Regions from separate parts of the Homo sapiens genome. Here regions 1, 2, 3, 5, 6 and 7 are each linked to region 4. The links are contacts of gene promoters, found by promoter capture Hi-C in blood cells and fetal thymus (Javierre and others, 2016). All regions are on one chromosome and are shown on one strand. The core of a region is centred on a gene start or on the middle of the fragment in contact, and the rest is flanking DNA. Distances in the headings are between cores, read along the strand shown.

Region 1 (3,665 bases), core at 66-2,565, 720 kb before region 4:
CCCTACACCCATGGCAGCTGGGGGCAGGGCCCAGCCTGTCCCAGGGACACGAAGAAGGTCAGCACAGTTAGGGTTGGGCTAAGCATTGGCCTTCACTGTGTGGGGCCCAGAGGCTGGGGATGAGGAGTGTTGAGGAGTGGTAAGGACAGTGATGCAAACAGCAGGGGCCTGAGGGCTGGAGAGCGAAAGGTGGATGGGCCTGGGCGGGAAGTGTGGTTGAGGGTATCCTGAAGGCTTAGGAGCAGGACTTCTGCAGGCATCAGACAGACCCTGGTTGAATCCTTGCTCAATATTTACTGGCTGTGCACACTTGAGCCAGGGACTGGACCGTTCCCCACTTGCCTCGTCTGTGAAATGGGCAGATCACGGGGTGTGGTGTCCTGTGAGACATGAACGATGGGAAGGAGCCACTGTGTGGGGTGGGGTGGAGCAGGAAGACGGAACAGCAAGCCCAGAGGCTCCTAAGCGGGAAGGAACTGGCTGCTTCGGGAACTGAAAGGGGTCAGCGTGGCTGGGGCACAGGAATGAGGGAAAGGCAGCGCCTGCCCGAGAGGTCAGGGAGGTAACGGTGATGGGGAGGGGGGTGGCGGGGGGCAGGCTGCATGGAGCAGGCTGAGGGGAGGAGTCTGGGCTTGTCAGAGGGGCAATGGGAGGCACTGGGGGCTTGGGCAGGGGGTGACAAAATCTGTCTGAAAAGCCCCGTCTGGTGGCTGGAACAGGGGGACTGTCGGGCCGGGGTAGAGGATGGAGAGCAGTCAGAAGACAGGTGCAGAGCCTGGGGATGGTGGTGGTGGGAGAAGAGGATTTGAGACTTGAGGACAGGCTGCAGCGGCAGACGGGATGGCCTTATTGTGTGGGGAGCAGGGGGAGCTGTCTGGCCTGAGCCACTGCCTGAGCTCGTGCACTCCTAGTGGATGAGGAGCGCTGGGAGGGGAACGGCGGGGGACTGGTGTGGGCAGGCTTGAGCTCTTCTGGAGTCATTCATGTGGTGAAGCCAGGGAGGCAGGTGGGGCCACAAGCCTGAAGTTCAGGAGGGTCTGGGCCCAAAGTAGAGACGGGAGCCTAAAGCCAGGATTGGGGAGGAGAGGGCTCAACAGGCCTTCTAAGGGGTGGGGGAGCATTTGAGAGGCCCACGAACAGGACTGGGATGGCTGTCCCTCAAAGGTCTCTGCCAAGGCACCCAGGAGGGCAGGCTTGTGGTGGCTGAGCCGCTGTTTTCACAACAGCTCCGGAAGCTTTGGATCATGTCTATGGCCGTGTTGGGTAAACAGGCAGAGCAGAGCAGGCAGTCGCCAAGGCCTGAGGCTAGATCAGATGTCTGCGTGGTGTAGGTTGTGGGCTGGGGTTGTTGGGGTGGGAGGAGGATCCCAGGGTCCTCCAGTGTCAGGGCTGGAGAAAGCTTAGAGGTCTCCATTGTTGAGACAGGGAGGCTGGAGCCCCGGGAGGGGCAGTAGCTGGCCAGCCTCTGCCAGTGGACTCATGCTGCCTGCTTCAGCCCAGTTCTGCCCAGAGCCTCAGGCCAGAACAGGGCACCCTGCGGCTGGGGGGCTTAACAGAGCCTCTTTTCCCACTTTCCAAGGAAGTCTGGAAGACACCAGAGCACTTGGGCCAAGATCGCGGAGCACCCAGGCAGCAGATCTGAGCTAGGCCTGTCTAGGTCCAAGCTCGCCGGTTCCTCTGTCCGCTGCCTGCTGTGGGATGGCGCACCATGCGGGATGGTCCTGCCTCTCTCCCAGCTTTCTCAATATCCCCAAAGTGGGGAAGCATCATGTGGATCCTGCCCAGATCCTGGGGATGACTGGCAAAAGGGTTAGGTGGCCATCTTGCCTTCTCCCAAACACAAAACGATTGTTTCCAATGGTAAACCATCTGGAAAATCGTGGGAACTCTGTGGGAGAAAGAAGGGCTAAGGAGTAGGGCTCTTGTACTGGGGGCTGATGGAGGAGCTGTTCCCATCTCCAAACACATACCCTCACCCCATTGGAGGCCAGATGGGCAGTTCTAGGACTAGAGCTGGAAGTTCTCTCCCCACTTCCCCCTGGGTCTGCCCCATTGGCTTTGTGGCTTTGGTTGAATTGCTCAACCTCTCTTTCGGTTTCTGCACAGTGAGCCTGGAGCTCAAGGAACTTGCTCCTGGGGTGCCCGGCTTGCTGCCCTACCAACATAGGTTCAAGCCCTCCCCTCCCCCTGCGCGCCAGGCCTGTGACTGCCACCTGTGACCTTCAACCTCCACCATAGCCTCAGGGCCCTGCAGGCAGGTGGGCGGGCGGGCGGAGGCCTGCCCAGTGATGTGCCTGACCAGCCCACTCCTTCCCTTACACACTTTAGACTTTGCTCTGGATCAAGAGGGACTTTCTTCGTCTCCCTGGGTGGAAAGGCCCAGCCTAGCCTGACACCAGCTGCCCTTCTGCCCCTCCTCCATTCCCCAGCCATTGTGCCTGGGGGCTGTGGTGGAAAAAGCTGCATTTGGACTTCATGGTGCCAGACTCTAGTCAGGGATGTGGGGTCCTTCCAGGACTGTATGTTTGTTTCTGTGTCTGCCTGGAGCATCTCTGTGCCAGTGTGTACATCACAGCTTGTGGCACTCCACGTGCGTGTGGAGCCTATGTGGTCGGGTGTGGTCTGTGTGGGCCCGGGTATCTGTTGAGATGTGAGAGCCGGTGAGTGCATGTGTGTTTCTGTGTGTGTGTGTGTGTGTGTGTACGTGTGCCCCTGTGTCATCACAGCAGTGTGTGTACGTACCTGTGGCTCCAACTGTGTGCGTGTGTGTCTAATGTCGAGTGGGGCTCCCTATGTGCTGTTTGGGTTGGCGAGTGTGCCTGTGTGCACACGTGTGGTTATTCGTGGAGAGGCCCGGCTGCATCCCCCACCCTGGCTCCTCACAGAGGCCCCTTGTCCTCACAGGATCTGGCTCTCTGGCTCCTGCCATGAAGGGGCCTTTGTTCCTCTCTCAGGGGTACCTGGGGCACCGCCCTCTGACTGAGCCCAGGACTCCTCATATCCTAGGGCTGGCTGGTGACTCGAGGCCTGTGCCTGGTGGCCTCCCTCCAAGGAGGCCCTACCCCACACAAGCTGGCAGAGGTGGATGTGAGCCGATGACAGCCAGGCTCCCAAGTCCTGCCCCTCTGAACCTTCCAGACCCTCTGGCAGGGCAGGCCATTATGCTCCTGCTGACCCCTCAGATCGAAGGCCCCCAGCCAACAGGTCCCTGCAGCCTCCGTTCTCCTCCAGCCCCCCTCACTCCCTGCTACTCACTGCCTGCGTGGCGCATCCTACAGAGGTCTTACCATCCTTTGTAATCACATATTTATGTGACTGGCTCCCACCAGGCTGTAAGTTCCATGGGCCTGGTGTGGCAGAGGTTACCAGTGGGAAAGCAGCTAGCTTCCTGAGAGGTGGGAAGGGTCCCCCAGGGCCAGCCTTCTGAGCTGCCTGGAAGGATCTGTGGGAATTCAGAAGGCTGTTCCAGCTGAGGGAACAACATCTGCAAAAATATGGGGGCTGGGAAATGAGACATATGTTCACAGAGTAGCCAGAACAGGGATTGAGGTAGAGAGCAGGACAGGGCCAGGGAGTGGGCAGTCTGGAAGGCCTGGAGAGGTCTGGGCTTTCTCCAGGGGCAGTGAGAGCCTAGGAGGTTCCCAGCTGTGGGAAGAATGGGTAGG
Region 2 (3,271 bases), core at 397-2,896, 780 kb before region 4:
GCCCGAGAGGTCAAGGCTGCAGTGAGCTGTGTTTGCACCACTGCATTCCAGCCTGGGTGACAGAGTGAGACCCTATCTACAAAAACAAAAAACAAAAAACAAAAAAAACCACCAGGGATTTCAACTTTTTTAGAGCTGTAGTTTTAAAAATATATCGAATCTGAGGATCTCAGTCAGGCAACTTCCTTATTTCACAGCCAAGGAGATGGAGGCCCTGAGAAGTTCCTAATGGCACTCTGCCAGTCAGGGAGTCAGGCTAGGGGGATCCAACCATGGAGCAGGCTCCTGGCACCACATTCAGGTCGAGCTCTGGAGGCTTTAGTTTGCAGTAAACTTAAACCAGCTGCTGCAAAGACATGTCTAGAGACATGTGTTGTCTGCAATCCAGAAAACCAATTTAGGGCCATCACTTGGACTGGATCCATTCCTTCAAACTTATTAAAACTGCTCTTAAAACCTTGGAAGGAAAAAAATGCATATGAGCAACCGTCCTTTCCAAAACTCACTCCACCGATTTTCCTGTTCTTACAACAATGTGAACTATCATCATACACATTTCACAATAGTTACGTTGTTGCTTTTCTTACCCCATTCACAAATACATGCTGAATAGCCCTCCTGTACCAGGCCACAGGGAGGCAGTAGTGAACGGCACAGTCTCTGCTCCCCAGGAGCTAAGTGCTCAGGCCCTTCACTCAGCTCTTCTGAGGCTTCTGACCCTCCCTTCCCCGAGAAGGCCTCGGAACGGTTTCATTTTTGTAATAGCAAAGTTATAAGGTTAGGCTGGAAACGTGTGTACTCTCAAAGATCAGAGAGCCCTCAGACACTGCCTGGTCCTATCCCTTATTCACAGATGGGGAAAGCGAGGCATAGGGGGAGTTGCTTTCTTTTGGAGACATAATAAACAAAAAATACAGATGGGGGGGAAATAAAATAACAAGATAATAACAGTTGTATTAGAATGCTAGTATTATTTTTTCTATTTTCTTATTTTTTTCTAACGGGACTATATTTTATAATTAAAAGAAAATTTTTGAAAAGATTAAAAATACATTCAGTAATAGGTATATGGATATGAAATATATATGAAGAGAGAAACTACTACCTTCAGCAACTTACAGCTGTCTTAAATCTCACTTTTTAAATTAAAGCTGGGTATAAGTAAACCAACACATATACATACAAAAACTAAATGTGCTTCCAGCCCCTTGCTGGCCCTCCACATTGAGAGCTCTGTCGTAGGTAAACTGAAAGGACCAAAGTCTGACCAAACTCTCATACAAGTGCATTTTGTTGTTTAAGAAAATAAATCCAGGATTAGGGAATTGACATAATTTTTAAAAAGAAGAAGAAGAAAATAAAATGATATAAATAAATGATATAAAATGATAAAAAGGCTGGGTGTGGTGGCTCGCGCCTGTAATCCCAGCACTCTGAGGCAGGCGGATCACAAGGTCAGGAGATCGAGACCATCCTGGCTAACACGGTGAAACTCCGTCTCTACTAAAAATACAAAAAAATTAGCTGGGTGTGGTGGTGGGCACCTATAGTCCCAGCTACTCAGGAGGCTGAGGCAGGAGAATTGCATGAATCTGGGAGGTGGAGCTTGCAGTGAGCCAAGATAGCACCACTGTACTCCAGCTTGGGCGACGGAGCAAGACTCCATCTCAAAAAAAAAAAAATGATAAAAATACTTTTATGTAACTGATATAATACTTTCATAATAAATTCATAAAAATCATATAACATGGGGTTTTGGAGTTAGACCTGGATCCCAGTTAAGCTGTTCCTTGTTACTATAAAACCCTAAAGAAATTCTGCAACCTCACTGACCCTTAGTTTCCTCATCCATGATGAAGGGGAACAATATGTTTCTTATAAGGCTGTGGAGAGATTTAAATTAGACCACTAAGTAAAGCATCAAACTAAACAGACGTTGGTTTCTCTCTCCGTATTAAGCCCCCTCCTCCCATTTCTGAAATTCTTCTGCCCCAGAGGCTCTGGACAGGTGGTCTGGACCCAGGTAATTGGCAGTCCTATGAAATCCCCTTCTACTATGGTCTCCCGACGATTCAGAGTGACCGTCTACTTACCTTCTGTCAAAATCTGTTTCAAGAAAGACTGTTTGAAAAAACTCCAAGTCAGTTTAGCCTCTTTCCAGTTTATAAACGCCTAGAAGAGAAAACAAAACAAAACAAAAACATCACAGGCGTTGCAAGTCTAAGAATGCAATGCTACATGAGAGGCAAATGCAATCTGGTCTCTAAATCCCAACTTGGATAGTCTCCACTGAATCCTCATCCAATGCTAAGCACACAGAAGGCATCTCACAAACACTGGAGAAGAATTTACATTACTAAACACAAAGCCAAAGTCTGTAAGGGCCTGCCCAAGACTCATATACTGAGACCCCTAAAGAATTGCTGCTGTCCCTTGGGGGCCCACACAGTACACTGACCACAGCTAACACGTACAGCTCACAGTTTGTTCTTTCCTTAAAAACTGTCTAAAGCATGCCAGGCTGCAGAAGAAATTCTGCTCCATATACTGCACATTGTAATGCTATGTTCAGCCATCCAGGGCCCTTTTACACAAAGTATAGGAGCTGCCCTTCTGCATTACAAAAGAAATTTAGCCTTCGCAGGTCAGGTAAACCACTCAGAATGGGTATGACAGAGGAACGGAGAAAATAAAATTTCTGATATGACTCTTCTAAAACTCCAGGCCAGGCGAGGTTGCTCACGCCTATAATCACAACACTTTGGGAAGCTGAGGTGGGTGGATCACTTGAGGCCAGGAGTTTGAGACCAGCTTGGCCAACATGGCAAAAACCCCATCTCTACTAAAAATACAAAAATTAGCTGGGCGTGGTGCTACGTGTCTGTAATCTCAACTACTTGGGAGGCTGTGGCACAAGAATCGTTTGAACCTGGAAGGCAGAGGTTGCAGTGAGCCAAGATGGCACCACTGAACTTCAGCCTGGATGACAGAGCGAAAATCTGGCTCAAAAATAAATAAATAAATAAAACTCCCAGCGGCACCAAATGGCCCATTTCCTAAGGACAAGGAAACACTTAGGTAGGGTAGAGGTCAACCTATTAAGAGACAGGTGGCCTCAAAGCCAGGGAGCTGAGCACAAAATGGAAGAGCAAGGCAGCCAGGGAGCTCGGTATCCTCTGACTCCTGTTTTTCTACCTCCCACAGTTCTCTCTGGGGCCCCCTCCTCTATCTTGTAGGCACCCTGGGATCCCAGAATATTTAGACTAGGTGT
Region 3 (3,427 bases), core at 464-2,963, 640 kb before region 4:
GAGTAAGCCAGGTCCCTGCCCAGGCAGGGGATACCCCACATAAGTGGTAAGACTGACACAAACCCAGGAGAGCTAACAGGTCCAAAGTGTGCAAGGCAGTGGGTGGGGGAAGGGCTTTGAAAGACATCTAATCCCTTCTGAGAACAGGGTGTCTTAGAGGCACAAAGGGTGAATGCGTATCCACCCAGAAAGGTGAACAGATTTACTTCTTAATAATATATCCTGAATGAAATTGGCCAGAAGCCAGAATCTTGTCTGTCTGAAACAGAGCTTGTTTGGGAAGGTCCCGAGAAATCATCCATCACGCAGCCCTCACAACCCTGTCATGAGCCCGGAGCACTGCTGGCACTGTGGCCTCAAAGCAGCCTCCAAGTAGAGCACTGGAGTCCTTGAAACCACCCAGCGTGGTTAAGTGCCATTACTGTCCCCGCTTTACAGAGCGGGAAGCAGGCTCTGAAGTAATTCACTGACTGACCCCCTCACCCACCCCACTGGACACCTCCAGCTGCATGCACGGTGGCCCTCATTAATTATCCCTGTCTCCGCTACAGAGGAGGCTCCTTGGGTGTCCACCTTCTGGGCCAAAAGGGCTGGCCAGGGAAGGATCTTGGGGCCTAGGCACGCCAGCTCCTGCCTGGGAGATACAGCACCTGGTGGCTGGCCCTGCCCCAGGACGTCACTCCCGGCGCTAGGGCCCTGGAACTCCGTCCTTCCGGCGCTCAGCCTTCTCAGTCTCCTTGCCCTCCGCCTCCTCCCGCCCCAGGTCAAATCTTAGACCTCCTTTTCACAATGGATCCCAGGGTTCTGCACCCACGTGCCACCGCCCTCCTCCCCTCTTCCCCCAATCAGCCCCGCCGCTGCCTGGCGTCTCAGCAGCCCCCTGCTCCAAACTCGGACCCAACCCAGGGGTGGCAGGAGACAGGGGTAGGGGAGCGTAGTCTGAGGTGGGGAGAAGGCCGGGCCCCCGAGTCTCCTGCAAGAGGAATTAAAAACAGGGTCTCTAGAGTCGGACTGCTGGGGCTCAAATCAGATCTCCCTGTGTGTAACTTTGGGTAGCTGACTAACTCGGAGCCTCCGTTTCCCCATCTGGAAGGGGGAACACTCCCGGCGGCGCCCACACAGCCAGGTGGTGGAGAGGGTTAAGAGGGCCGCGTTCTGTAGAACAGCAGTAATGGTGGCCTTCCCGGCATCACCCTAGAGGGTACTTGGCGAGTCGCGAGCCCATCCCCCGCGCCACCATGCAGCTGCGCGGCCGGCGATCCGCGTGGGGAAGAGCCGGCCTGAGGCGCACGGAGGACCAGAGGCCCACGCGGCCGAGCCCGGGCGTAGGGCGAGTGTGCGGCGCAGCGGAAGCCGCCTGCAGCCCGGGGCCCTGCGAGGCGCGCGTCTCCGCCCTCCGACGGCGCCCGGGCCACCTTCCTCGTCTAGGCATCTCGCAGCGCGACCCAGAGCCCGCGGCGACTCTGGCCGCCGCAGACGCCCCCCGCCCCGCCCGAGCCGCGTCCCCGGCCGGCGCCGCGCACTCACCCAGAGCCCGCCGCAGTGGTGGCCTGGATGGAGCTGATACGTAGGCGGTTGGCCGTGTCCTTCAAGGCCTGCAGCTTCTGCTGGTCAGGCTTGTGGTAGCTCTCCATGGTGCGGCAGGCGGGGACCGGGCGCACACGCGGACACACAGAGATAGCGGCTGCTCCCGCGGCGACAGGCGGCTGCCGAGGCCGGGCGCGGGGCGGGGGCGCGTTAAGTCGCCGGGCGGGGCGGGGCGGGGATGGGAGAGGCGGGGCAGGGGGAGGAGGCGGGGCTCGGATCACCCCAGGCCTTCAGCCCCGCCCCGCCTGGGGCCGCCTCCTGCCCGCTCCCCTCCCCTAGGCGCTGGGCCGCTGCGGACTGCGAGGTTAGCAGTTAACCACACACACCAATAATAATAACATAACGAACAACTCAGGATTCGAGTCTGGGCTCCTGACTCGAAAGCCTCTCAGTCTCCCTCCTCCACACAGTCCTCCGTGGACTTGTCACGGCGAATCCCATTTTAGAGATGGACAAACTGAGGCTTGGCAAGGGCAATCAAGGTCACAAGGCTGGTGGGTGCCAGGCTTGGCCCCAGCCGACCAACCCCAGGCCCAAGAGACTGCAGGACTTAATTTTGAGACTGAGTTTCGCTGTTGTTGCCCAGGCTGGAGTGCAATGGCATGATCTTGGCTCACCACAACCTCCGCCTCCTGAGTTCAAGCAATTCTCCTGCCTCAGCCTCCCTAGTAGCTGGGATTACAAGCATGCGCCACCACACCTAGCTAATTTTGTATTTTTAGTAGAGACGGGGTTTCTCCATGTTGGTCAGGCTGATCTTGAACTCCCGACCTCAGGTGATCCGCCTCGGCCTCCCAAAGTGCTGGGGTTACAGGGGTGAGCCACCGCACCAGGCCCTATTTCTTTTTTCTAATAATTAAAAAACTTGTTTTTTCTTTGAGACGGGGTCACCCATGGTCACCCAGGCTGGAATGCAGTGGAGTGATTACAGCTGCCTGAAGCCTCAGCCTCCTGGGCTCAAGTGATCCTTCTGCCTCAGCCTCAAAAGTAGCTGGGACCATAGGTACACACTACCACGCCCGGCTAATTTTTGTATGTTTTGTAGAGATGGGGTTTTGCCACTTTACCCAGGCAGGTCTTGAACTCCTAGGCTCAAGCCATCTGCCCTCCTCTGCCTCCCAAAGTGCCGGATTATAGGTATGAGCCACCATGCCCAGCCACTCAGGGCTTTAGAGCCCTGCACAGGGGATGGGGATTATTGAAAATGAGAATAGGATAGTGGTAGCCATGACAATGCCAGGTGATGATAACTGAGAAATTACTAGGGGAAGATCCTTTACAAATTATTAGGGCCTAGAAACACTACTGACTTTTAGGGAGATTATTGGGTTTGCTTCCAGGTCTGTAGGGACAGGGGCACCCACCACTACTGTTATCAGACCCCATGGTTCCCAGAGGTATGAAGCTCCCCAGAGTGGGATTAGGGAGGGGACTTTCATCACAGACACTGTTTCATTCAATCTGCCCACCACACTTGGCCAGTGAGGTACATACTGCCTACAATGCCTATTTTACAGAGGAAGAAGCTCCATTTGACAGAGGAAAGATAAAGGCAAGACCCTCAAACGGATGGCTGGGCAGGGAGCTAAAACCCTGAGAGATCCAAGAGGCACCAGTGGCCGCCCTGTGTCCTCTGTGTCCTCCCTGCATTGCCCATACTCAGAGAGCTCTGGCTCATGAGGCGATTGACTGAATTTGAGTGAGTCCCCCAGCTCGCCTCCAGGTGCTCCTCTGCTGGCCTGACCCCCAGATGCCCAATCAGACCCTAAGTATGGCATCCCATAGCACCTGGCTCCTGCTGGCCCAGCCCGCAGAGGCTGGCCCTATGGTGTCTGGCTGG
Region 4 (3,590 bases), core at 126-2,625:
TGTTTCTCAACTTTTAAAGTACGATAAAGAGTCCTAATCGGCTACTTATGTGGACCAAATGAAATAATGCGAACACAGTAAGACACAACAAATACAAGGAATTATTCAATAATTCATACAGAAGCTTCCAGCCTTAAGCTTATATCACAAAGGCTATAAAACAGGCTATAAAACAGACTAAAGTCTGAAAGCGCCCAAAACTAAGATGAAATTTTGATGCTTTTCTGTAGTGTCCATCAATCTACTTGTTTCAAAGATTTTTAAGTGGGAGATGAGAAGGGGAGATTTTTAAAAGTCAAGAAATGCAAAAGTGCAGTCAGCCAGAAGGCTCCTCACTGACTACCTTACTCGTCTCTGGAGAAAAACAGATGACTCAAATAGAACCAAGACCTAGTTCCAATGATCCACAACTCCTTGTTAAGACTGTACCAAAGAATTTCACCTGAGTCAAACAGGTGGGCAGGCAGCTCTAGCACTGATCTGACACAGTCATGTCCTTCCTTTCCGGTCATCTTCTTTGTGGGTTCGCAGAATTAAGTCTCTCGGATTCTCCATTCCGGTAATAATTAACTTGCTCCTAGGGGAAGATAGTACTTCTTCCCATGCCCCTTGAAATTCGAGCAAAAAATTCCATGTTTGACTAGCTACCCTTTCCTGGGGAAAAAGCCTATGCAAAGCTTTCATCTAATTATCATCCTAGGTCGGCTCGGTCTTTTTACACGTTGTAGACAGAGGCAGCATAACAGATAACAAGGACGCTGACGTCAGCCTACCTGTGATCGAATCCCGACTCAGCCATTAAGTTACCTCTGTGACTTAAATAGCCCAGGCAAGCTATTTAATCTATCTGAGCCTCAGAGTTTCCACCCGTAAAACAGGATTGAATGTGACGATAAGCAAATAACTGAAACACTGTCCAGGGCACAAGCGCTACGTGTACAGCGTCGGCATCATTGTCCTTACTAGTTTTAAGGATACCGACACCCGAGAGAGGAAAGACCACCCTCGCAAATCCACAATCAAGCGCTTGCTGCACGAAGGCGGGGTTGCAGGGCTCCCAGTACTCAACGTGAGGCCGGCGGGACCTCGGCCCCCGACTGCCGGCTCAGAGACCATCGGCTGACGCGCCGCAAGCCGAGGCGACTTCGGTCCAGCTCCGCCCGGCCGCGGGGCGCTAAGCCCGGGGAAGCCGCACCGGGCTCAAGACTCAGCGAGCGACGATGAAAGGAACCTGGAGTCCGATCTTACAAGTCACCGGTCGAAGCCACAGCCCGCTCTCAACTTACCGTTCGAGATGTAAACCATCTTGTCCCACTTCCCCGCTTCGGAGCCACCGGGCGCCTGGCCCCTGTCGGTTTCTGTATCTCCCTCTGCTCCCCGCCCTTCGAGCGTCACAGGCCGCGATTAGACAAAATGCTGACGAGGACGAAGGTGGGCAGAGCCCATTGGCTGCTGAAAGAGACGCGCCCCCGACGGGCGTTTTTGCATCGTCACATCTGCGACTTCTGGTTAGGCGGAGGCGGCCGAGCTGACAACCGGATATGACGTTAAGGACTGCCCTGTAGTGCCCGCGGTTGCCAGTCCTCTATCCGACTTGATCGTGCAGAGTTGGTTCGCACCGCCCAGTGAGGGGAAGCTGTTTTCTCGTCGATTGATAGGCTCCGGGTCTGGGTAGGAGAGGCTGCCCTGTATGAGGTAGCTTGAAGGGCCGCTGACAGGAGGAAACGCTTCCGAATTTTCCAGACGTGTTGACGTTTGAGGGTGCTGACTACACGTTAAGGAACTTTATTGTCACGCCTTTGGGAATATACTGCCAGGCTCTTCCTAGATATATTCATTCTCTTTAAAATGAGCATGTCTACCTGGGTTCACCAGAAACTAAGTTTTTCTTAGCCTTTTGTGAGGCAACTGAAAAATAAATTGAACTGTAGGCCCTTTCTCTGCTTGTTTCTTATTGATGGCGACTGCTTATGACCACTTTGGTGACAGACGAATTAGAAGACATGTCTTGGACATTCAGTAAATGTGGACCACATACCATGGATATTTACTCTGCTACAGCCAGTGGGCTGCCTCTGTTCCTTGAACGTGGCCATTTCATTCCCTTCTCAAGGCCTCTGCACTTAGCTATTCTTTCAGCGTGGAGACCTAATGGCTGCTTCCTTTGACTTCCCGCCCCCAGTTCTCAAGCCATGTGTCATCTCTTTGGAAAGATTCCTAATCACCTTCCAGAAAATGAAAATTACATGCTGAAAATCTATTTTGAGTTTAACAACTTTGGTTAAGATTTTATGTTCTAATACTTAGAACTGACAAAGATCTAATTTTATGTTGATTTTGGAGAGAGCATTTTCCCCAGAAAAGTTCATAATAGGACAAGACAACATCCTTCACCTCATTTGGGATTTGTGCAGCACAATCATAAAGGATCATTTCTGCAAAAATATTAGGGCAGGGCCGTTAATTTTCCCAAGGGCCTTTCTTAATCTAGACCATGCCACCATCATCTCTCACCTGCTCTACGCTAGTTTCCTTCTAAATGAAATCTCAGGTTCAGTCTTTTACCATCCTTAGGCAGTTTTACAAACTGTAGCAAGATCGATCTTAAAACGGAGATCATCTCGTTCCCTTGCCTAAAACCTTTTGGACACTAAAATTTAGTGACTTCCTATTGCTCTTAAAATCCAGTTCCTTGTCATGGCCTGCAGGCCCAAGGTGACTTGTCCTCTTGATTGCTCCTCTCACTGTACTTCCAGCCACATCTCCCCACCCAGATTATGCTCTGGCAACATTGTTGTTTTAGTTTATGAACACCCCCACCCAGATTATGCTCTGGCAACATTGTTGTTTTAGTTTGTGAACACCCCGGGTTTTACTGATACCTCCAGGACTCTGCCCATACTTGTCCCTCTACCTGGAACCCTCTTCCTCGGACTCCTTGCACATCCAGCTCATTTTATCCTTTAGCCCTCTGCTTAGTTGTCACCACTTCTGGGTGCCCTTCCCTGGCCACTCATCTCCGTGTTTATTTTCTTCATAGTAATTCACATTGTGAAACTGTCTGATAATTGATTTGTCTCTTGTCTTCAAGAAAATATAAGACGTAAGAGGTCAGGAATCCTGTCTGCCTTATTGTCTTTTATATCTTCAAGGTCTGTCATAGTTCTTGGCAAGTAGTAGGTGCTCAGATATTTGTTGGTTGGTTGAATGAGATTTTTTTAGACAATTTTTTGACAATTGCTTAAAATCTCTCCAATTGCCAAAAGAGGAAAGAAACTAACATTGGGATCTCCTGAGTATCGGACATTGTGAGGCTATCTCTTCCTTTCCATTCCTTTATCTAGATCATTTTTGCCTGAGATTTAATGCAGTGATTTCCTAATGAGCTACCTCTAGTTTCTCCGTACTCCATTTCATGCTATCTTCACCTGTTAGTTTAATCCAATCTTGCCTCTCCCATTCACAGACCTTCCGTTTCTTCCCACCACCTGACAAACATAATTCAGCCTCCCTGGTCTGGCATTAAGGGCTTTCCTGATACATCTTAGATTTTGCTCTCTGATTTCTACTTCCCTAGTAGACCCTTTGTT
Region 5 (3,572 bases), core at 181-2,680, 550 kb before region 4:
CAGGTGTCTTGATGGTATTTCCCACAAGAGAATGGCAGAAGTGCAGCTATAGAATCAGGTATAATTACCTGTATGCATAATCAGATACTAACTTTTTATTTAAAGAACAAATCCCTAAACAACTTAATAGCTCGCTGACCTGACAAGACTATTTTCCACTTTTAAGACTATGTAGACAAAACACACACTCGAGAGGGCTTAACACTCACAAAATCATTTTCTGTTGTCTTATCACTTCTCCCCAATACAGCTATTCCTTTAAATACTTTCCCTAATGAAATGACCTGGTTAAGTGAGTTTTCTGTTCAACTAAGAAAACTTTTGTTTCAATCAGTTGAAAATTTTCTAAAGTAAAATGCATTAATGCACTTTCTCCCCAAGAATGTTCTAGTTAACATAATAAATACTCCTGATGATTTTAGGTCTCACTATAACAATTTAACCTATGATACTACAGTGGAGTTAAAGTTATAAAATATTGACATTTTAATGCCGACCCCAGGTTATTCTCTGGATATCTGCTTGATTTTCAGAAAATAAAACCTAGTATTAGCTTGTTTTCTTATAATTTGCCTTCATTTCTTCCACACACGAACTATAAAAATATTTCCAGACAACTGAAGCTCTAATTAGTTAGCTTCTGGTTACTCATGGTTCAATTACATTTGTGTTATGTCACACTTTCAATTTCACAGGACTTTTGCCTTGTGAAAAAAATATAATACAATTCATCTCAGGTTTATGCTAAATGGTAACTGGGTCCGGATAACTTTCCCTACTGACTACTTTAATAATCAAACCACTTAGGAGTGATGGCTAGATTAAGTTTCCAGGCAGTAAAGAACAGAATTAAGCCTATTTCACTTAAAAAAAAATTGGATCCATATTCATTTGCAGAATTTCTCCCACCCTCTTTTCATTTTTTGAGTCAGGGTCTCGCTTGTTGCCCAGGCTGGAGTGCAGTGGCGCAATCATGGCTCACTGCAGCCTGGACAGCCTCCTGGGTTCAAGCGACTTTCCCACCTCAGCCTCCTGGGTAGCTGGGACTACAAGTGTGTGACACCACACCTGGCTAATTTTTCTATTTTTTTGTGGAGTGGGGGTTTTGACATGTTGCCCAGGCTGGTCTCAAACTCCTGGGCTCAAGCAATCTGCTTGCCTCGGTCTCCCAAAATCGTGGGATTGCAGGTGTTGAGCCACTTTGCCCAGCCGAATTTTCCCTTTAATGGAATATTCAGTACAAAGAAAAGAGCAATCTGAAATAATTACATTGTTAACATTAGTTTAAATAAATCCATCTGAACTTACAGCTATTACAAAGCATGTCTAATATGTCCACAGAATTTAAAATCTGAGAGGTAATTACCTGGACAAATAGTTTACTGAGAAGTCAAAAGATAGAACCTATTTCACTTATACTTCAAAGTGTGCTACGGAAAAGAACTTGGGGGTTTCTAGCTTTAAAATAGGCCTTGTTACTTCTCATTCAGGGAATTAAGAGGTGTATAATTTTTAGTAACTTTTTCTATTTTATACTGAAGACATCCCCCAAGACCAATTACCCCCCCGCCAAGTGAAATTCAAACACATTAACTTTTACTTTTTAAGTTAGAAGCAACATTTCTCCAACTATATCCTTAGATGCCAATTAGAGCACAATCATTGTTACCATAACCAGTTTTCATATCCCTATAGTCAATGTCCAACAAACTGTCCTCAAACACCCATACCTTCAATATCCATACTAATACACTGGAATCAAGTATATTTTTTAGTACTGTAGTTTCTTGGAAGGGCCACTCTAGCTTTGCTGACTACATCCAATCGTTATTAGAGATTGTAAAAATGCCTGAAAGAACCCTGGACTAAAAAGCAGAAGAATAGTCATAATCCTAACTCTCCAACAGGGTAATAGTTATGCATCTCTGAGTCTCAGTTGACTTAACTGCCTGCTTACACCACATAGGTAACTGTATCGTTAACATTAAAGCACCACAGCTCTTGGCTCAGTGCTGGTAACCAGTAGACACTCAATTAAATAAACAGATAGAAAAACCTTACTTAGAAACATATTCAGACAAAATAAAGTAGAAAAAGTAATAAATATCTTAAAAAAAAAAACCCATCACCACTATTCTGGGCAAAAATAATATTTTCTGGCCGGGCGTGGTGGCTCATGCCTATAATCCCAGCATTTTGGGAGGCCGAGGCAGGCAGATCACAAGGTCAGGAGATCAAGACCATCCTGGCTAACACGGTGAAACCCCTTCTCTACCAAAAATACAAAAAAATTAGCCAGGCGTGGTGGCGGGTGCCTGTAGTCCCAGCTACTTGGGAGGCCGAGCCAGGAGAAGGGCATGAATCCGGGAGGCAGAGCTTGCATGAGCCTAGATCACACCACTGCACTCCAGCCTGGGCAACAGAGCAAGACTCCGTCTCAAAAAAAAGAAAATAATAATAGTAATAATAATACTTTCTTTGTGGAAAGAATTATCTGTATCTGTTCCCATCCTGTGTGTCCCAAACTAAGTTCTGTTGCTTAGGGACATGGGCAGCTGATAGTCCACAGCTGCAAAAAAACAAAGGCATAAACCTTATTTTAATAAACCGACAACAGAAATGTAGTGCTATTAAATGAAATAGTAAACTAAATTATATACAAAAGAATGTTTCCAGTTTCAGAGCCCAGTTTATTTATTTATTTTTTTGAGACACAGTCTCATTCTGTTGCCCAGGCTGGAGTACAGTGGCGCGATCTCAGCTCACTGCAACCTCCACCTCCCAGGTTCAAGTGATTACAGGCGCCTGCCACCAAGCCCGGCTAATTTTTTTCTGTATTTTTAGTAGATACGGGGTTTCACCATGTTGGCCTGGCTGGTCTCGAACTCCTGACCTCAAGTGATCTGCCCTCCTCGGCCTCCCAAAGTGCTGGGATTACAGGCATGAGCCACCACCTCTGGCCTCAGAGCCCAGTTTAAAAGGTTTGATCTTTCCAACAGACTCATTTATAATCATTAAGTAGAGACCATATTTTGTTTTGTAATTTGAAACTTCCTAAATAATGGATTGATAGAAACTAAAGTCACTCAATTTTAAATGTAATAACTATAATAAAACAGATATACTCACAGCTTGCATTTCTATACAGAAGAAATGGTTCATGGAGCTGAAATTCCAAATCTTTATTCACTGGTTCAACTAGATTGTGCATATTTAGTCGATTCACAATGGTAAAACCATGGTAAGGGGAAGCTGACCTTAGATTTAATAGAAGAAAAAAAAATATGTAGTTACCATTTAATCTGTAGAAATGTTATCTACTATGTACTTTATTTTCATTTCAAAAAAGAATGCATTAGAACATTATACAATATTATCAGCACTTACATCTGTAAACAAAAAATTTAAGTCAGATCATACTCCTCCTCTGACGAGAAGTCTCCAAAGACAGTCTCTCAGAGTAAAGGCCAAAGTCCTTACTGAGGCCACCAAGGCCCCACCTGATATACTCCCCACTCTGACTTCATTTCCTATGGCTCTTCTCCAGCTCCTACTCTCCAGCCACACCGGGC
Region 6 (3,490 bases), core at 673-3,172, 580 kb before region 4:
AGATTTTTAATTTTCAAACAGTCTCTAGGCTGGCCACAGTGTCTCACACCTATAATTCCAGCACTTTGGGAGGCCAAGGCGGGAGGACAGCTTGAGCCCAGGAGCTTGTCAAGATCAGCCAGGGCAACATAGTGAGACTCTATCTCTACAAAAAATAAACAAAATTATCCAAGCATGGTGATGCATGGCCTATAGTCGTGGCTAATTGGGAGGCTAAGATGGGAGAATGTCTTGAGCCTGGGAGGTAGAGGCTGCAGTGGGCCAAGATTGTGCCCCTGCACTCCAGCCTGGGCAACAGAGAGACCCTGTCTGAAAAAAGAAAAGAGTCTCATTATTACAAGTGCTCATTCAAAAGTCTGAAATTTCGTTCATTATATCATACTCAGCAGATAGCGGAGACTCAGAATCAGGATTAAATCCCAACACTGAGGCCTAGCTTGCACCCCTGCCCTTGATTGCCAATCTTCTGAGTCTTCACCTAAAGATAAACAAAGGGGCCGTCTGAAAAAATGTGGCAGCTGAAGGGAGCCCATCCAAACACCAAGACCCATGAATTCATGGGTCACTGCTTATACCAGCTCCATCTGATGAGATGATAGACAAATGCAGATAAGAGAACAAAACTCTAATTCAAAGAAGCTCCACCTATTGCAGACAGTTTTCAAAATCAGAAAGAACACATGATAAAGTAAATATCAAAGATTTAACCAAATCCCAAAGGGTTTCATTTTAATCTACCCATAGACGATATTTTATTCCATAGTGTGAAAGAAGTTTATTTAAAACAGAAACTATCATGCTATCTATATTCCTTTTGTAATATTGATATAATTCAAAATAATGTCAGATGTTTAGATTGCCCACCTGACCCTAGAGTTCCTTTAAAGTTTTGTGTTCAAAGCTAATGTCTTATTTCCTACTTTCTCGTTGTGGCTACTTAACCTCTCAGCCTGAGTAAGCCAGGCCACTTACTGGAGTATCTGCTTTAGTGCGCAGCACCTACAGTTTCTGTCCCGTGTGGTACCTTGATACAGTTATTACTCAGGATGAGTGACAGAGCCCTGGACTTACTAGGTACCTATGAGAACACTGAAAGGGCTCTACAAACAGAACAAAGTATGTACGTAGAAAATCCGCTTGTCATCAAGGGTAGAAGAGGGGAATGTAAGGTAACTTCTAAATCAGAAAGCCATTCTTGAAGTTAGTTCTCATTTGGTTTCCTAAGAATCGATTAATTTATTAGAGAGGTGACTGCTCCTCCAAATTTAACTTCCATAGATCCATTCATTCCTCCTAATTCTCTGTGAGACATTGAAGAATTTGGTACAAACTTGAAACTTCTCATGGGCTCTCATGTACATTTCTCCACCCTGGAGGTGGGACTTCCTTTGTTATCAGAATGTAGAAGGTCTATGTAGTTTATGGTGAACATGCCTATTTTTAGTCAGAAGAAACTATCTTTCAGAACACTTTTTTCAAACTTTTTCCTGAACTCCAAATTCTTGAGTTGTTAAAGGGCAGTATGCAAAAAATGGTCCTGCAGTCAAGTCAATCTGGGAATTGGTGTTATTGTTTTACTTATTGCAGGACCTCTCAGTTTTGAGCTCTGTAAAGTCCCAAGAGGATGGGAGGAGGAAGAGTCATGCTAACAACAGTACCTTAACTCGTTTTGCCAATTTGAAGCTTTTTTCAGGATCACTGATTAATAACTTAGTAGCTGGTATTATAGCAGAACTGTATGGGAAACAGGGTCTTTTGGACAGTGCTTTTTCACATTTTGTTCCTTGAAGTTCTGGTGAGGTGAAATAGGCATGAAAGGAAAGCACTTAATTCAATATTTAATGAAGAGTAAGGTGACAGTATAATTCTGCTAAAACAAAGTTCAGCAGTAGAGAGCTTGTCTCACTCCAGTGAAGTGTGGGGGCTTTGAGGTGCCAAGTAAAATTCCAGGAGAGTCATAACCATGAAATGCCCACTGCTTGCACATAGTAGATGGTTCATAAGCAGGTATTGAATAAATTAACGAAAGTACCACAATTGCCATTTTATTCAACTTTTGGGAGAAAATTTTATCAGCTAATTTATAAACTAAAATGCACAACAGAAGAGAAAGAAAACAGTGAATTTCAGAAAAGCCTCTCATTTGGGTAAAATTCCAAATGAAGCTTAATGAAGGTTGTGCATCTACCACCAATTACAGACCATGAGTGTATTTTTTAGTATTATGTGGTACAAACTATCAGAATACTTTTCAAAGCCTAAACAAATTCCTAGGACCACTGAGGATCCTAACAGAAACTGCAGTGGTGAAGAAGAGGCACGAAGCTTTACCAGAACTAGCTGCTGCGAGCTAACTTCTGCACTCCAAGACCATCTTCTCCCATAGTAATCTTATAGGAATAGAAAAAAGCATTGTAAATTTTCCTGCCAAAAACAAGTAATCTGGGGTAAGCAAGTTCTTTCCTTATGTTTTAGGTTTAAAATTGTAAGACACATCTGTTTTAAAAAAAAAAAAAGAGAGACACAGGGTCTCACTGTTGCCCAGACTAGAGTGGAGTGGCACAATCATAGCCCACTGCAGCCTCCAACTCCTGGAGTCAAGTGATCTTCCTTCCTCAGCCTGCCAAGTAGCTGGGACTGATTACAGGAGTGTGCTAACACGCTCTCTTTTTGAACTTATATTTCTGCCGTCCCTGGAGGCCAGCTTCCCTAGTAAAATAGTCTCCTGCAGACCTCCTCCTCCCGTTTTGGTCTTCCCTGGTCAGCACCCAAGTACCCAGAGAGCCTCACCCTCTCATACTCATCCTTGGCTCTGCTCAGCATCTCCAGGATGTCGATGGGCCTGTGGTCGCTGCAGCCATTGGCCTGGCTGGGACTCTGTTTGTCCCGAGCAGCTTGCTGGGATCGCCGTGTCTCCTCTTCTACCACACTAGAGGAGAAGAACAAGGTTTTAGAAAGGCCTCTTGAAACAAAATCTGACCCAAGATTTCTTTTGGTGTTCATCTTCCAAGGATACACTAAGAGTGTCACATGATGACATTCTTCTTTTTTTTTTTTTTTTTTGAGATGGAGTCTCGCACTGTCGCCCAGGCTGGAGTGCAGTGGTGTGATCTCGGCTCACTGCAAACTCCACCTCCTGGGTTCACACCATCCTCCTGCCTCAGCCTCCGGAGTAGCTGGGACTACAGCGCCCACCACCACACCCGGCTAATGTTTTGTATTTTTAGTAGAGATGGGGTTTCACCGTGTTAGCCAGGATGGTCTCAATCTCCTGACCTCGTGATCTGCCCTAGGCCTCCCCAAGTGCTGGGATTACAGGCCTGAGCCACCGCGCCCAGCCGATTACATTATTCTTGCAATATATAACACAGAACTTCAGTTACCTCATTTCAGAAATAAATGACTTACCATTTCACCGTCTCATTAACAGTGCCAATATTTACCCTTCAGAAGGATAAAAATACAGAATTCCTTCCTAGAGTTGGCAGAG
Region 7 (3,615 bases), core at 834-3,333, 740 kb before region 4:
CAAGCTTCATTTCCCATGATCTTCACCACAAACCCAGGCTTTTGTATGGCACCCAAGGCCGCTGTGAGTGTGAATCTTCAACTGGCCCCTGAGGCACCTGCCAGCAGTAACCAGTGCCCTGCGAATCCCACCCTGCAGCCCCTCAGCCTTCCCTAGAGTCAGCCTTGGATGCAGCGGGCTCATTACCTTCAAGCCTTTGCTCAGGCTGTTCCTTCTGCCTGGAGTGCTTTCTCTGCCTCCTCTGCCTTCCCACCACTGCCCACTAAGGAATTCCTTCTTGCTCTTCCCGGCCCAGCACCAAGGGCACCTTTTTGGTGAAGCCTTCCCTGCTTTGTTGGCCCTCGCACAGAAATTTTTTTTTTTTTTTTTTTTTGAGGCAGAGTCTCGCTCTGTCACCCAGGCCGGAGTGCAGTGGCATGATATTGGCTCACTGCAACCTCTGCCTCCCGGGCTCTAGTGATTCTCGTGCCTCAGCCTCCTGAGTAGCTGAGATTACAGGCATGCGGCACCACGCCCGGCTAATTTTTTGTATTTAGTAGAGGTGGGGTTTCACCATGTTGGCCAGGCTGATCTCAGACTCCTGACCTCAAATGATCTGCCCTCCTCGGCCTCCCAAAGTGCTGGGAATACAGGCATGAGCCACCATATGAAGCCATGCCTTAGATTTTATACAGAGGGCTTGAGGCATGCAAGCTTTCCTGTCCTACCCTAAAATACACCCTGAGGTTAACAAATTAAATCATAATAACAAAGCTGGCAATAATCCACTGAGCACTCGCTCTGATCCAGGCACGGTGCTAGGCCCTCCTCTTGTCTACTCTCTATGAGCCTCTGTTAGCAGCGAGTGGAAGCCAGAGAGGGAAGGTGATGTGCCCAGGGTCACATAGCTGAGTGGCTGAGCTCCCTGCCAGAAGACCAGCCCCCAGTAGCCCCAGGACACTCCTGACCTTGGCCACCACTTTCAACACCTCCGTAAGAATAGGCCCTTTCACTCATGCATTCTGACTCCCTCAGCGGACTCAGGCTCAGGGGCTTGGGCTGCCCCTCAGGCATGAGGAGAGGAAGAGGGGACCCTGGAGGGCAGTCACACAGGCATGCAACAGCAGGGAGGCTCCAGCCCAGAACCTCTGTGTCAGAGGAAAACAGGTACTTGTGGGACTCCCTCCCTTCCTCTGGTGGGCCATGGGCCGAAGTCCAGGTCACCATCTGGTCCCCTGCAAGCAGATCTTGCAGAATGTCCACCCCGGCTCCAGTTTCCTGAGACGTTGTCCTGGCCACGTCCCTGTCAGAACTGACTACCAGGCAGCAGAGCTGGCCCCAGGGCAGCATCCGTCTTCGGCTAGGGAAGGGGCTGAGACCCTCCGCAGGACACGTGAACACACCAGGTCTTGGACTCCTGCCTCAGCGCCCTGCAACAACCTGTGTGGCCTTGGGCCGGGCTTCACCTGAGCCTCAGTTTCCTCGTCTCTGGGATGGACGGGAATCCCTGCTTTACCCCAGGTGTAGGCAATTAGACAGCAATGAGGTGGCTGCCCACTCCTGTCCATCCTCCCATCAGACCCTGTGCTCAACCGGCAAGGAAGCCAGGCATCTTCTTCCTCCTCTCCCTTGCTCCATCAGTCAGTCCATGTGACCACTGACCGTTGGGTCTTTCATCATCCTCCCATCGTGTTTCAGAGAAGCTGAGCCACCTGCCTGAGGTCACACAGTTAGAGCAGGCTGAGCCAGGAGGAGAAGCCTGCAGCCTGGGCACACCTGCCTCTGAAGCCACCAGGTTTTCGTCCTGACCTTCGTCCAGCCTCGCACAGACGTCGGGCCTGGCCCTGCTACCTGGCCTTGGGCTTGCCTCCCTGAGCCTTGACTTCCTCAACTGTAAACTGGGGTTGCTCTTACTCTGCAGGTTGTCCTGATAGGCGGTTTTTAATCACTCAGCCTCTCCCTGGTAGCAGAGGTAAATTAGTATCTACTGTCCCATCACCTTTTCTGGGTAGCTGCAGCCACAGAGACCGAGAGGGGCAAGGCCCTGCCAGGATCCTGCAGCCAGTCAGAGGCATGGCTGAGCAGGCCTCTACCTGAGGGTCCAGCGTCTCCGCAGGCTCACTGGCATTGTGTGTGTCCACCGAGGGCCCGTGGAAGCCTCAGTGTTGCCACAACTCACTACCTGGACACAAACTTGCTCACTAATGTTTGCCCAGGCCTACCCTAGCCTGGTAGGCACTTCAGCGCTTAGCCTTCTTCCAGAAGTTTCACCCTACACCCACCTGGGCCCCCTGGCAGACAAGATCTGGGAAGCTGGCCTGCCCCTCAGCTTCTAGGGTTCCCTCAAAGCTGGGGATAGCCAGGGGACCTGGATCAGTGGTGGTGTGGGGTTGAGGCAATCCAGGGGAGGCACATTTGGGGGACAGTCAGTGATACCAGCTCCCACGTGAAGGACAGGGATGTAGGAGGCATCCTGATGTCCCCGGTCATCCCCTGCCCTCACTTCCTCCTGGTAACCCTATTCTGTCTTCCTCAGTGAACTGGGAGATGAAATGGAGCATCAGACTGTGGCTTGGCAGCCACACATAGATGGGTGGGGAGGCAGAGGGAGGAAGGAGGTCTTGGATTGTGTTGTGGGATGAAAAACACACATTGCCCTCATGTCGGAGCACTACCTAACCTGGCTTAAGAGGTTAGCCAGGGAGGCTTCCTGGAGGAGGAGGTAACTAAGCTAGAATCTACCAGAAGACTGAGAGGAGTTAGCTAGGCATGGTGTGCTAAGCAGAGGGAAGGGCATGGGCAAAGGCCCAGGGGTGAGAAGTTGAAGGATGTTGTCTGGTAGGAACTGGAAGACGTTCCTATTCCTGGAGTTCTGGGCTGGCAGGGGGACAGGCGGCAGAGGCTAAGTCACACTGGGCCAGGTGGCCACAGTAGAAGTTTGACCTTTATTCTGAGAGATCCATGGTCAGCCTCAGGGCTGGGGAGTGAGTAGTCCTTGACACTTTAGGAGGATTATGTGGCTGCTGTGAAGGAAAAGAATTGCTGGAGGTGGGGAGGTGGTATTCTGAACAGAGGAGACCATCACAGATGGCCAGACAAGGGACACTGGAAGCCCAGGCCAAGGTGATGGCATGGGGACAAACAAATGAATTCAGAAGTCAGGATGGGGAGTGTGAGGCACCAAGGGGAGAGAGATCTGTGCAAGATTCTGCGGTGAGCTGGGGCCTGGCTGGGGTGCAGAACATCGTGTGTGCAGAAGGTTGATAGTGGGTCCAGGGCAGAAGGCTGCCCAGCGCAGGCCCACTGGGATCCTGCCCAGGGGCTGGGAATCCTTTCCCCTCCCACCCTCTCTCAGAGAAAGGCTTTGGCCCGAGGGAAGAAAGTTCATTTTTTCTTCCTTTGCACCATGGCTATGCTGTGCACACCCACAGAGCACACCCACGGAGGCTGTGGTTCCGCTGCTGCCTGCCTTCTCCAGAGTCTGGGGAGTGGGGGAAGCTTCCTTGGGGCCTTCTCCTCCGGATTCCAGTGGCTTGGTGTGGGTGGGGTGGGAGGAGGGTGCTTGAGGAACAGGAGGGAAGACTTGGCATTTCCATTACCCCCCTTGCCTCCAAGTATCCCCTACCACTGACACAC

What was found. Contacts are between HindIII fragments. The CHiCAGO score rates a contact against its expected background, and 5 or more counts as called.
Region 1: a contact is called between a fragment that was not itself captured here and the fragment with the promoter of SELENOK in region 4, in 2 of 17 cell types (fetal thymus and naive CD8 T cells). The highest score is 7.3, in fetal thymus.
Region 2: a contact is called between a fragment that was not itself captured here and the fragment with the promoter of SELENOK in region 4, in 1 of 17 cell types (fetal thymus). The highest score is 5.4, in fetal thymus.
Region 3: a contact is called between the fragment with the promoter of TKT here and the fragment with the promoter of SELENOK in region 4, in 1 of 17 cell types (neutrophils). The highest score is 6.3, in neutrophils.
Region 5: a fragment that was not itself captured here is called in contact with the fragment with the promoter of SELENOK in region 4 in 15 of 17 cell types (non-activated CD4 T cells, activated CD4 T cells, total B cells and 12 more); the score reaches 16.5 in non-activated CD4 T cells.
Region 6: a contact is called between a fragment that was not itself captured here and the fragment with the promoter of SELENOK in region 4, in 7 of 17 cell types (total CD8 T cells, naive CD8 T cells, total CD4 T cells and 4 more). The highest score is 8.4, in total CD8 T cells.
Region 7: a contact is called between a fragment that was not itself captured here and the fragment with the promoter of SELENOK in region 4, in 1 of 17 cell types (fetal thymus). The highest score is 5.2, in fetal thymus.

What each region holds. Positions count from the first base shown.
Region 1 is chr3:53,168,259-53,171,923 of GRCh38, forward strand. All of the region lies in intron 2 of PRKCD (protein kinase C delta), which reads left to right. Among named protein-coding and RNA genes, the nearest start is that of PRKCD, 8.9 kb to the left of the region's middle. RefSeq lists enhancers at 1-136, 137-817 and a silencer at 2,014-2,063. The HindIII fragment of the contact is 164 bases long and covers 1,234-1,397 here.
Region 2 is chr3:53,109,737-53,113,007 of GRCh38, forward strand. It overlaps RFT1 (RFT1 glycolipid translocator homolog), which reads right to left. Exons shown (of 13, transcript NM_052859.4): 7 at 2,094-2,172. Among named protein-coding and RNA genes, the nearest start is that of RFT1, 19 kb to the right of the region's middle. The HindIII fragment of the contact is 7,624 bases long and covers 1-3,271 here.
Region 3 is chr3:53,254,309-53,257,735 of GRCh38, forward strand. TKT (transketolase) reads right to left here and starts at 1,714. Exons shown (of 14, transcript NM_001064.4): 1 at 1,528-1,714. The coding sequence starts at 1,634. RefSeq lists a silencer at 1,311-2,000. The HindIII fragment of the contact is 25,611 bases long and covers 1-3,427 here.
Region 4 is chr3:53,890,484-53,894,073 of GRCh38, forward strand. It overlaps SELENOK (selenoprotein K), which reads right to left and starts at 1,376. Exons shown (of 5, transcript NM_021237.5): 1 at 1,287-1,376. The coding sequence starts at 1,305. RefSeq lists enhancers at 564-1,464, 1,355-1,654. The HindIII fragment of the contact is 7,183 bases long and covers 676-3,590 here.
Region 5 is chr3:53,339,015-53,342,586 of GRCh38, forward strand. DCP1A (decapping mRNA 1A) reads right to left here. Exons shown (of 10, transcript NM_018403.7): 3 at 3,130-3,257. Among named protein-coding and RNA genes, the nearest start is that of DCP1A, 6.7 kb to the right of the region's middle. The HindIII fragment of the contact is 5,444 bases long and covers 1-3,572 here.
Region 6 is chr3:53,309,451-53,312,940 of GRCh38, forward strand. It overlaps DCP1A (decapping mRNA 1A), which reads right to left. Exons shown (of 10, transcript NM_018403.7): 5 at 2,791-2,929. Among named protein-coding and RNA genes, the nearest start is that of SNORD38C, 22 kb to the right of the region's middle. The HindIII fragment of the contact is 482 bases long and covers 1,682-2,163 here.
Region 7 is chr3:53,150,773-53,154,387 of GRCh38, forward strand. No RefSeq gene overlaps it. Among named protein-coding and RNA genes, the nearest start is that of PRKCD, 8.6 kb to the right of the region's middle. The HindIII fragment of the contact is 2,784 bases long and covers 692-3,475 here.